Linked DNA regions of Homo sapiens: all the other regions are linked to region 2. The links are contacts of gene promoters, found by promoter capture Hi-C in blood cells and fetal thymus (Javierre and others, 2016). All regions are on one chromosome and are shown on one strand. Each heading gives the region's core, a stretch centred on a gene start or on the middle of the fragment in contact. The rest is flanking DNA. Distances are from core to core; before and after follow the strand shown.

The links. Contacts are between HindIII fragments. The CHiCAGO score rates a contact against its expected background, and 5 or more counts as called.
Region 1: the fragment with the promoter of ARHGEF33 here is called in contact with the fragment with the promoter of ATL2 in region 2 in 7 of 17 cell types (total B cells, M2 macrophages, activated CD4 T cells and 4 more); the score reaches 11.9 in total B cells.
Region 3: a contact is called between a fragment that was not itself captured here and the fragment with the promoter of ATL2 in region 2, in 1 of 17 cell types (monocytes). The highest score is 5.1, in monocytes.

The regions. Positions count from the first base shown.
Region 1 is chr2:38,887,346-38,891,127 of GRCh38, reverse strand. It overlaps ARHGEF33 (Rho guanine nucleotide exchange factor 33), which reads right to left and starts at 1,253. Exons shown (of 18, transcript NM_001145451.5): 1 at 1,142-1,253. The HindIII fragment of the contact is 7,511 bases long and covers 1-3,782 here.
Region 2 is chr2:38,375,137-38,379,328 of GRCh38, reverse strand. It overlaps ATL2 (atlastin GTPase 2), which reads left to right and starts at 2,056. Exons shown (of 13, transcript NM_001135673.4): 1 at 2,056-2,186. The coding sequence starts at 2,069. RefSeq lists silencers at 1,637-1,686, 1,757-1,916, 2,137-2,636 and enhancers at 1,887-2,136, 1,963-2,462, 2,463-2,964. The HindIII fragment of the contact is 2,426 bases long and covers 1,044-3,469 here.
Region 3 is chr2:37,388,479-37,392,308 of GRCh38, reverse strand. No RefSeq gene overlaps it. Among named protein-coding and RNA genes, the nearest start is that of QPCT, 46 kb to the right of the region's middle. RefSeq lists an enhancer at 2,016-2,205. The HindIII fragment of the contact is 1,011 bases long and covers 1,371-2,381 here.

The sequences.
Region 1 (3,782 bases), core at 4-2,503, 510 kb before region 2:
ACCCCATCTCTACAAAAAATACAAAAATTAGCCGGGTGTGGTGGTGTGCACCTGTGGTCTCAGTTACCTGTGGGGGCTGAGGTGGGAGGATTGCTTGAGCCCAGGTGACAAAGTGAGACCTTGTCTAAAAAAAGAAAAGAAAAAAGAAAAAAAAAAAAACCAATAGTATGGTCATCTTGTTTCAAAAGCCTCTGAGTTTTCAAATGAGTTTAGATTGCATTTCCAGAGCCCATGGTTATGAAAAATGTAGACATTAATTAATTCAGTTTGTGAAAAATGTTTAGAATAAATGTGCATCAAAAACTTTTTTCTCTAGGATACATTTCTGATCATTATGTTGAATCCTTCAGAAGTAGCCTTCAATGAAATAGCTATTCCATTTACAGCAATATGATTTTGTATTAAAAGGGGCTATTAAAAATATAAAAGGGTGATATAGAGATTTCTACATATTCAGAATACTATTTCAGCATATAAAAACTCACATAATTCCAATACTAATTATAATAGAACGCTATTCTCACTTAAGACAATGTTTAAGTGAAACTCAGTTCTTCTCATTACACACCAAAGCCCCATGAAGTGTTTAGAATTAGGTTTCACCAATAAAGCCCCCATGTAATTAATCAGTACACATTTTCAATCAGGATATGTTTTTTGTTCTGTACATAGGGGAGTGAATGCTGAAGATTCCCCTATTCTTTTTCTGTGTTAGAAAGGAATAAACCAATCTCCCTCCATCCCTAATCTTTTTCATTCTTTAATTATTCTTAATCCCAAAGAGGCATGTCCATGTCAGATTTACGCTGTCTAGCATCCTTTCTTTAAGACTGCTCTCAAAATTTAACTCATCTTCAACTATATTTATTAATATGCAGAACAACTTCAGTCTCCAGTTTATCGATAACCTGCAAAGCGCAGTTAAGACATAATATAAAAATTAAGCAAGGAAATAAATGTTTTACAAATTGTTATAACTCTTAAATAAAAGTTATTTCTTTGAATGCCTACCTCAAATAAATGTTAGCATATATTGGATTTAAATTAGTACACCACGTGGTAAGGATTGATGGGTTTTCATCTCTTATAAAATTGTTTCCCCTTTCAGTGCCCCTTAAAGCATATAAAAGCGCATACTTACCCCATGTTGCCTGCGGTGGTTATATCATCCTCAGATCAAGGCTTATCTGGGTTCTGAATTAACTTAAAGGTTATAAAAAGAAGCAGTAGAGAGGCTTGACTTCCCCTGAAACGAGACCGTAGTATGCTAACCAGGCTTTTAAATGAGGAAAACTAGTGTCTCTTCTAATTATATAAGCTCCAGGTCAAATTCTAGCATCAACTAATCAAATAACTGAACTGCATTTAGTTTCAATGAGTAAAAAGGAAGAAACCCATTTAGGAGGAATATCTTTGGTATACTAGAAAATTGAAAAGTTGTACTTTGAAAAGTTATTAACATAGCAATACAAGTTAAATATTTTAAGAGTAAAATATATATCTTGCTGCCTTAAATAAATTGAAAAAAATTAGGGAAAATTTATTTTGCAGCAAAGCAGATACTTTTCTATATTTTCCAGAAGTTTTTGAATTTAAATTATATGTCCTGGTCCCTGAAAACATCTTCTCACCTTATCTTAACTTGTCCAGTATTTGTCTCTTCATGAATTTCCATATAATAATAATATTTAATTCTAAAGCCATGCCAGCTAATGTTTAGCAACATATACAAAAATGTCCAATTCTTAAAATGTGTCTTTGAAAACTTACAAATAGGGTCTTTCAAAATTAGCCATAAAGCTATTATTATGAGAAACTAACAAAAATGCCATTTTTATTTTAACATTTTAGAAGACATTGTAACCCAAATTTGTGCCAGTACAGCAAAAAATAAAAATATACATCTTTTGGCAATAACATATTGAGAAATACAAATATTCACAAGATTTTGAATAGAGAAATATGACAAAGAAGTTATCTATTGTGTACACTATTTTTTGTCAGTTTTAGAATATAGAGTTTCAGCAAAAACATTCAGGTCTTTATTGTAATTTTTTAAATGTAGTTGACATATACTGCTCTGGTAATTTTTAAATTATCTTATGTAAAAAGTAAAGAAGTTTTCTGGACATAGAATATATGACAACACACAGATCTACTTTTTAAGAAATTGAGACATAATTTACACATCATACATAAAATTTGTCCCTGTTAAATGAACAATTCAGTGGTTTTTAGTACATTTTCAAGACTGTGCAACCATCACCACTGTCTAATTCTAGAAACCTCATGCCTCCCAATTTCTTCCTCCCCTGGCAACCACTAATCTATTTTCTGTCCCTAAGGATTTGCCTATTCAGAGCATTTCACATAAATGGAATCATATAATATGTGGCCGTTTGTGACTGGTTCCTTTCACTTAGTACAATGTTTGTTTGTTTGTTGTTTTTGAGATGAAGTTTTGCTCTGTCACCCATCCTGGAGTGCAGTGGCATGATCTTGGTTCACTGCAACCTCTGCCTCCTGGGCTCAAGCAGTCCTCCCAAGTAGCTGGGACTATAGGCATGTGCCACCACACCTGGCTAATTTTTGTATTTTTTGTAGAGATGGGATTTTGCCATGCTGCCCAGCCTGGTCTCAAACTCCTGGCAAGCGATCCACACACCTTGGCATCCCAAAGTGCTGGGATTACAGGATGAGCCACCTGCCTGGCCAGTACAATGTTTCTGAAGTTCATCCATGTTGTAGTATCAGTACTTCATTTTTTATGGCTGAATAATATTCCATTATGTGGACATTTTGTTTACACATTCATTAGTTGATGGACATTTGGATTGTTTCCAGTTGGGGCTATTATACATGTCTTAGTCCATTTGAACTGCTATAAGAAAATACCTTAGACAGGGTAATTTTAAACAACAGAAATGTATTGCTCACAGTTCTGGAGGCTGTTAAGTCCAAGATCAAGGCACTAGCAGATTTAGTGTCTGGTAAGGACTTGCTCTCTTCTTCAAAGATGGCACCTTCTTGCATCATTCTCTTGTGACAGAAGAAGCAAGCAATCTCCTTCACATCTCTTTTATAAGGGCACTAATCCCATCCATGAGGGCTCTGTCCTTATAACCTAATCACCTCCTAAAGGCCTCAACTCTTAATACTACCACAGTAGAGATTAGGTTTTTGTTGTTGTTGTTGTTGTTTTTAGACAGAGTCTCACTCTGTTGCCCCTGCTGGAGTGCAGTGGCGCCATCTTGGCTCACTGCAGACTCCACCTCCCAGTTTCAAGCAATTCTTGTGCCTCAGCCTCCCGAGTAGCTGGGATTACAGGCACACACCACCACGCCTGGCTAATTTTTGTATTTTTAGTGGAGAGGAGGTTTCACCATGTTGGCCAGGCTGGTCTCAAACTCCTGACCTTAAATGATGCACCCACCTTGGCCTCCCAAAGTATTGGGATTACAGTCGTGAGGAAATTAGGTTTAAACATGAATTTTGGAAGGACACATTCAGACTATAGCAATGAATAATGTTGCTATGAACATTCGTGTGCAAGTCAATTCCCTTGCGTACATACCTAGGAACTGCTGAGTCACGTAGTAACTCTATGTCTAATATTTTGAGGAAATGTATTCCACAGCAGCTGCACCATTTTATATTCCCACCAGAAATGTGTGAGGCCTCCAATTTCCCCACATCATTGCCAATCTTTGTATTGTCTGTTTTTTTTTTTTGATATAGCCATCCCACCAAACAATGCATGTTCTCACTTATAAGTGGGAGCT
Region 2 (4,192 bases), core at 807-3,306:
AGATAGGCAGAACACCAAAAAGAGAAGAACATAGGCAAGGAAAAAAAAAAGAAAAGAAAAGAGAAAAGCAAAGCAAAACACGAAACACATGGGGTAGCAGCCTAGATTAGTAGATAGAATTGAAGTCCTTAAAATCGAAGGCACAGTGAGGGAAACCATAAGGTCTTTTATTACATGTAAGATATTCAATATCTTCCAAAGGACTGCCTATACTAAGCATAGAGGGTGATTTGGCTTAGGTGAACACTGCACTTTGGTAAGGATTCAGGTAGCTTTTTGTTGTCACTGACTGTATCAACCTTAATTTAGCAAATGGCCTATGCTGTGCTGTTTGTAAATGGTTTCTTTTTTCTATGTGCCTAAGCAAATGTTTTTTAGTGAGTAAATGACAGTAAATAAATCTTTGTAGAACAATCCTCGTGAAGATTTTTTTGCCCTTCTTCTCCTCCTCCTCCTCCTTCTTCTGCTTCTGCTTCTTCTTTTTCTTCCTTTTCAATACTACGTTTTTCAGGCCAATGATAAAACAGAAAATGTCTTGACAAAGTGAGCTCTCCAAATCATATATCACAAGGACGTAAGAGGAATATCACTTAACAAGTTGATAAAGATCCTGCCATCAATATGAACGAGGGGGAAGGGTAACTGTACTTTAGATTGTGGAGGTGGTTCAAGTCCCAGAACTAGAATCTTAGTAACTCAAAGAATATTGCCAAGAACACGTATATAGTTATTCTCCTAGATTTATGTGACAATGATGACAAACTCCATATTCTGTTGAAATATATTTGGATGGGCCGGGCGCAGTGGCTCACGCCTGTAATCCCAGCACTTTGGGAGGCTGAGGCGGGTGGATCACGAGGTCAGTAGCTCAAGACCAGCCTGGCCAAGATGGTGAAATCCCGTGTCTATAAAAATACAAAAATTAGCAGGGTGTGGTGGCGGGGGACTGTAATCCCAGCTACTCCGGAGGCTGAGGCAGAGAATTGCTTGAACCCGGGAGGCGTGAGCCACCATGCCCTACCTAGAATGGTATTTTGAAAGCTTTAATAACACCAGTGCTTTTCTAGAGATTGTGCATGCTGTGAATTTTAGACTTATGAAAAGACCTGGACAAAACAGCTGTTTGTACACCCGGACATCTGTTTTTACTGGAGAAGAGGAATTTCTAATGCAGCTGGCAGTATGGTAAAAATCCAAAGGGATCATGTTTCACAGACGCCTCCACGGGCTGACTTGTAATTTAAAAAGTGACCTGAACTTTCTACTGGATGTCACTGGATCCCCAGAAGAAGGTTCATCACAATTAGGTAAGAACCTGCCACGATTCATTTTCCGATTAGAGTGCTTTCTGGCATGCCTCTGCAAGGTGCTAGGAGCACAGGGCCAGGGTATACACAGTTGAGAAGATGGGGGAAGGTCTCATAAGTAGATGGGGAGCGAATGCAAACAAACCTTAGGATGGTGGGGGGGAGGGGAAGCAACAGTAGGGACTTGGGTGAGGAAAGAAAAGATCAAGAGGAAAAGCAGGGCACTGGCAACAACTTGGGGGGTGGATGGGGAGAGAGGAGGGGAATGGCTGTGATGAGGAGGGGGCGATGAAAAGGAGAGAAGGGGTGCGAAAGCCACCTCACGTGCAGGACGCACGAATCAACGATTAGAGATGTAAAGCGAATTGGGAGGGAGGGACTTAGTTCTCTGGAGCTCCCTTCTGCGTTTGCAGAGCCTGGCCCAGCGCTAAGGGGGTGTGGTGCTGAGCTCAGGGAGGTGGGGGTGTGAGACGGCGGCGGCAGGGACACCCCCGCCCCAGTCCAACCAGAAACTTGGAGCCGGGGAGACGGATCTGCAGGCGGGCAGGGCGAGGGCGGAGCGAGCGAGCGATGGGCGGGGCGGGGGCGGAGGGAGGGCGAGGAGATACAGGCGGAGGGCGAGGAGATACAGGCGGAGGGCGAGGAGATACAGGCGGAGAGCGGCGCTAGGACCCGCCGGCCACCCCGCCGGCTCCCGGGAGGTTGATAAAGCGGCGGCGGCGTTTGACGTCAGTGGGGAGTTAATTTTAAATCGGTACAAGATGGCGGAGGGGGACGAGGCAGCGCGAGGGCAGCAACCGCACCAGGGGCTGTGGCGCCGGCGACGGACCAGCGACCCAAGCGCCGCGGTTAACCACGTCTCGTCCACGACCTCCCTAGGTACGGGCCAGCGAGGCAGAGGCCGCGGGGCCCTGATGGGGAGAGACGCTCGCTGCTCGGGCTCGCGGGCACCGGCCGCAGGCGGCGGGGTCGGAGTCCGCGGCTGGTTCAGGTCTCCTCCCGCCGCCGCGCCTGCCCGCCGGGCCTAGCCTCAGCCGCGCCCCGCGCTCCCGCAGCGCGCGGCCTGAAAGGGCGGCTCGTGGGCCGCGGCTCCAGTAGCTGCTGGGAGAACCAGTGGCGCGCGCGTCTGCGACCGGCCCGGCCCCCTGCCCGCCAGCCCGCCGCGTGGCTGCCGCCGTGTCCGCCCCGACCTTAGGGGGCGGCCTTGAGCCGTGGCCGCCTGCCCGGGGCGCGGGGAGGTCGGCTGCGGCTCCGCTCCGTCCGGCGAGCTCCGGACGCGGCGGGGCGACCCGTTAGCTGGTGGGCGTTCGCTGTCCCTTACGCGGACAGGGAGGAAGGGGTGGCCAGGGCATGATGGGCCCCGCGGAGGAGGAGGTCGCGCGGGGAGCAGACACCTTGCTGCCGGGTCCGAAAGCTCCTTAGACACCCTTCCTGGAGGGAACCGCAGTCCGCAGGCCAGGGCTCTGTCCCCGGGCTCGCGTTTCGGGGCTCCTCGGCTCCCGAACCCATTCGCGCGGGTTGTGCGTGGCTAGGGTGCAAGTCTAGATTTTCGTGTCAAACTGGGGTTATGAGCCGTTTACGAGTCACTTGGACGATAGTAAGGCCTGATCACTCTGAAAGTGTCTGTAGTGTGAAGTCACCTGATCCTTGGCTCCCTGGTTTTGCTGAATGTGAGCTCCTACTGTACGTGTACCAGGAGCGCCCCTGCCCCCTCGAAGACGCAGTTGCGTTGGCAGCGCAGTGTATCCCTCTCACTCATAACACCCCTATTTATAGGAGTTTAGCGTTTGATCTCTCACTGTGGTGCGAATTGATCGCATGAAATCCTGATTGAAAATTTTGATGGTACTTAAGAAAGGCATAAAGTTTTTTCAAAGGCTTATAAATAGTAAAAGCCTACGATTTGGTAAGTACGGCCAAGATAAGAGTTTATTATTAAATACAGATACGAGCTCGTGTCTTAAGATTTCTTTTTTTACGGTGTGTAAAGGTTTTGCTGGATAAAATGTAAAGCATTTTGGTATGATGTTAACCACAAGGACTCACTTTAATAGGAAAGTTTATTTGAAATATACTTCATCATTCCTGGTAGTTCTTGGCGCATGTCAGAGGTGATGACAGACTGGAGTTTTGCTAAGGGAAGAAGAAAAGGAAATAAAGCTTATTTTATTATTGTCTGCCAACCAAAACGCTTGACTGTTTGTACAGTGGTAGCACTCTGTAGAATAAAAAACTACCAAAGAAGCAGCTTCGCCTTAGATGTGTGCTGGTTGGATTTCTTAAGTAATTAATTGTTTTGGAATGCGGATGGATTAATTTCGCTCTTTTGGTTGGACCCTAGGGGAAGAAGTGTGTGTTCTTTTCTTTCTTTCTCTTTCTTTCTTTCCTTTTTTTGAGGTAAGAGTTTTAGATGCAGTTTCAAAATATTCTATGTATTTACCTTATTAGAAGAAACATAAATTTATACTTCAGTTATGGTTGTGAACGTTGTTGTGCTGTGGTATCTTGAGAAGAGATGATACTCTTCAGATTGTTGTTGAAATAGGGCCCACCATTTATTATTTAATAAATGCTTTTGTCTGCTACTCATAGGTTTTTGTCCTTTGTTTTTTAGGACGGATCAGCAAGACCTTCACTTGATAGCCATTCCTAGCAAATGATTGCCTAAAACAGTCCCTGTACCTGCTAATTTGCTCCGAGTCACTCATTAATGAGTTAAAAACTAAATGAGCTTGGTAGGATTTGTGTTTAAAGTGAGAAGAAACAGACTGAATGAAAAGGACTCATCTATTTTTGACTGTGTAGAAACTCTTTGTCTCCCTCTGCTTCCTGGAGAAATAGCTTCAAAAACCAAGTTGGGGTCAAGTGTCACTTGAGTAGTTTAG
Region 3 (3,830 bases), core at 627-3,126, 990 kb after region 2:
GCAGCAGCAATGGGGGTGGTAGAAGGTGATTGGATTCTGGATGTATTTGGAAGATAGACCTGGCCAGGCTACCTTCTGACTGGGTGTGGGATGTGAAATAGAAGAATCAAGAATGACTCCAAGGCCAGGCATGGTGGCTCACACCTATAATCCCAGGACTTTGGGAGGCCGAGGTGGGTGGATCACTTGAGGTCAGAAGTTCGATACCAGCCTCGCCAACATGGCAAAACCCTGTCTCTACGAAGCATACAAAAATTAGCCGGGCTTGGTGGCACACCCCTGTAATCCCAACTACTAGGGAGGCTGAGACAGGAGAATTGCTTGAATCCAGGGAGCGGAGGTTGCAGTGAGCCGTGATTGCACCACTGCACTCCAGCCTGAGCAACAGAGCGAGATTATGTCTCAATAAAAAGAATGACTCCTATGTTTTGGGCTACAGGAAGGTTGGAGCTACTGCCATCCAACAATGTCTGAAGCAGATTTGTGGGGAGGAGACCAGGAGTTCAGTGGGAACTTGCTGAATCTGACCTTCAAGTAGAACTGTTCAGTAGGCCGTTGTACATACAAGTCTAGAAAACATTTGAGAGCTCCAGGAGTTGCCAACATATACATGGTATTTAAAGACTTGAAGCTGGATGAGGTCAACAATGGACTGAGATGGAGAAATGAAGAGGAACAAGAACTGAGTCTTAGAGCCTTTCAAACTTGACAAGTCTGAAGATGAAGAGGAATCAGCAAAAGACACTGGAAAATAGCCACCAGGGTGTTGGAGGAAAATCCCATACAATTCTAATTTCAGTGGGCACACAGGACAGAACATTCTATTCTCGAATCTTCTTTGGTTCCCTGAACCAATGTAAACAAATTCCATACTTCTGAGTGCTTTTTTCTTTATACCTGATGCCCAACCATTTCAAGCCCTCTCCCTGGGTTTCCTGTATAGCTCTGGTAACAGCCAGAGCCACAGCCGCGACATCATGAAAAGCTCAGATGGGCAGCCTCTTTCCTGCTTTGATACATCCCATGTCCAGAGGAAGAACTGTGGATCTAAACAGAACCCACAGATGGTGGCCTACCTAACACTATCAAAACACAGAAAGAATGAATGCTCAAACAAGCTCCCCGTCAGGGTGTTGTGCTGCTTTCAGGAGCCCAGCAGCATGTAGAAGATGATGTGCAGAACTCGAGGAAGAGGATAGATAGACTTGAGGACCCAGAGCATCCTACAACTTGAGACATGTAGCCCACTACCTCTATGAGGATCCTGCCCTATATCCTTGTGGACCATGTGCTGAAGTTGCCCTTAGGAGGAAGCAATGTCTAGGAATTAACTTCTGAGGTTCTGAGAACACAGAAATATCTTCAAAGCTTCATCTTTACAATTGGATTTACATACTGACTCATGTTTGAAATTCTGCCATTATCAGAGTTTAATCACTTGATTTTAAAATGTTTCTAATCAACTCTGCTGTTCCTTATTCTCAGCTCAAAATGGGAACATAGAGTTTGATAGAGAGGAACCGGGAGAAGAGAGAAGGCATGGGATGATGAGGAGGGAGAAAGTCCCCTCCACTTCTGCCTCACCTCCCAGGAAGGAAACTAGTCCATAACAGGGAGGCAGGAAATGTAACCTCCCACCTGGAGTTTCCCCTGTTGACAGATGGGGGAGGAAGTCATGGGGATGAGTCAGAAACTCTTTGAGGGAGGCTTTGCTTGAGAGCTGCCTATGCAAATTGTCTTGGGCTTCCTTTTCTGCCACAGAGGAAACAGACTAAACCTAAAGGCTTTGCTGGTACACAGAAGCCAAAAGGAGATCAAGTGTGACTATTCCGAGGTCAGGTTTCTCGCTCGATGCCTGAAGGAGGTTCAACACCCCCTCCTTCCTCTGCCTACTCCTTCTGGCCTTCTGCCCTCCACCCAATTCTCTGTCTCACCCACAAATCCTACCCAATGCAGAAAAGTACTCCATACTGTGGTTCTTCATTTCTCTTTATTTCATAACCATATTTCTCATCTCTCTTCCCTGGGACTTCCTCAAATGTCCTTCTTTTGAAGGAGAGAGATGAGGAGGAGGCAAGAGGCATACCTAGGGAATTCCCTGGAGTTCAACTGAAACTTGTTGCAGTTCTGTTTCTAAGTCACCATTTCCCTGAGGGCAGCACTTTCAGAACCTACTGGCAACTGAAGTCTAGATCCCCACTCTGAAGCTCAGAGCCTCCCTTTGGCGGGCCTTGGGAAAGGAGGACAGGCACAGACAGCTTACACCCAGCATCTGGCTCCTGGCTGTGAGCTTGGATCTCTCCCTGCATCTGTTCCCTCGGTGCCTAATTCCAGCCCTGTGGGTAGATTTGGTCTTCAATAGCTGTCTGGTGCTTCAAGCTTTGTTTGTCTAGCTAGAAGCTTCAATTCTTGGTTTTTTGTTTTTTTTTTTTACTTCAAATAACCAGGTACTCCATAATACTTGGAGTGTTCATCTGAAAACTCAAAATGAGTCACTTCGATTTGAAACAGAGATACAGGATTAGCATAATAGAGTGAAAAGGCATGAGACTGGGTGCAAATCCCAAAACCTGACTTCTGGCCCAATCTTCATTATTGTATAAACTTGAACAAGTTGCTAAAGCTCTCTGTATCTGAGTTTGCCCCATCTCCTCCAGGATGAAGCAGGGCAGGCCTTGAATGAGGACAGGGGCCCTGAGAGCTGGAGCTGGGAGGTGTAGATGCTCATGGCAGCCAGTAGAGCCAAGAGGCAGAGGGCAAACCAGGTTCTTAGAGAACACAAAAGGCCCAGACCAAGGATACCAAATCTCTCACCACAATCAAGAGTAAAAGCCAGGAGATACACTGTTACATTTTATATAGGGTAGTTGGAGAAGGCCTGTGATAAAGGGACATTTGAGGCAAGTCCTGAAGCCAGAGAAATAGAAGCTGGATCAGTTCTTGAATATTTGTTTAATCACCAAGTATGTATTAAACCTCTGACACACACAAATATCTCCAAGTTGCTGGGAATACAATGATGAAAAACATAGACATAGTCCTTGCCCTCATGAAACCTACAATTTGATCATGAAAACAGGCTGCCCCCCACCCATAGTAAAACAATATTGTAATGACAAGTTGTGATAAGAAAAAAGAAAGAAATGAGTAGAGTGCTGAGATAGAAATATACAGGGAAGGACCTATTCTGGATAAGAGGATGTGAGGAACAGCCTCTGTGAGAAGGCCAAGAAAGAGACAGCAATGTAAATCGGGACTAAAGGAGAATCCCATGTGGAGGATAAGGATGTCCAGAAGCCTCCCTATGGCAGGGGACTGCTTAGTAAGTTCAAGGAACAAAAGAGGGCAATGGCATTTTAGGCCAGAGAGGGAGGGAAAGAGTGGTAGAATGTTGAGTTTCTGGGCCAGGCACGGTGGCTCACGCCTAGAATCCCAGCACTCTGGGAGGCTGAAGCAGGTGGATCACCTGAGGTCAGGAGTTTGAGACCAGCCTGCCCAACATGGTGAAACCCTGTCTCTACAAAAAATACAAAAAAAAAAATTAGCCCGGCATGATGTTGGGCGCCTGTAATCCCAGCTATTCAGGAGGCTGAGACAGGAGAATTGCTTGAACCCAGGTGGTGGAGGTTGAAGTGAGCCGAGATTGCACCACTGCACTCCAGCCTGGGCAACAGAGTGAGACTCTGTCTCAAAAAAAAAAAAAAAAAAAAAGATTGTTGAGTTTCTGAGTGGGGAGGGCCTTGTAGGCCATAGTAAGCCATAGTTAAGGAGTTCATATTAATTCTCAGTGCAGTGAAAAACCATCACAGGGTTTTATGCAGCATAGCAAT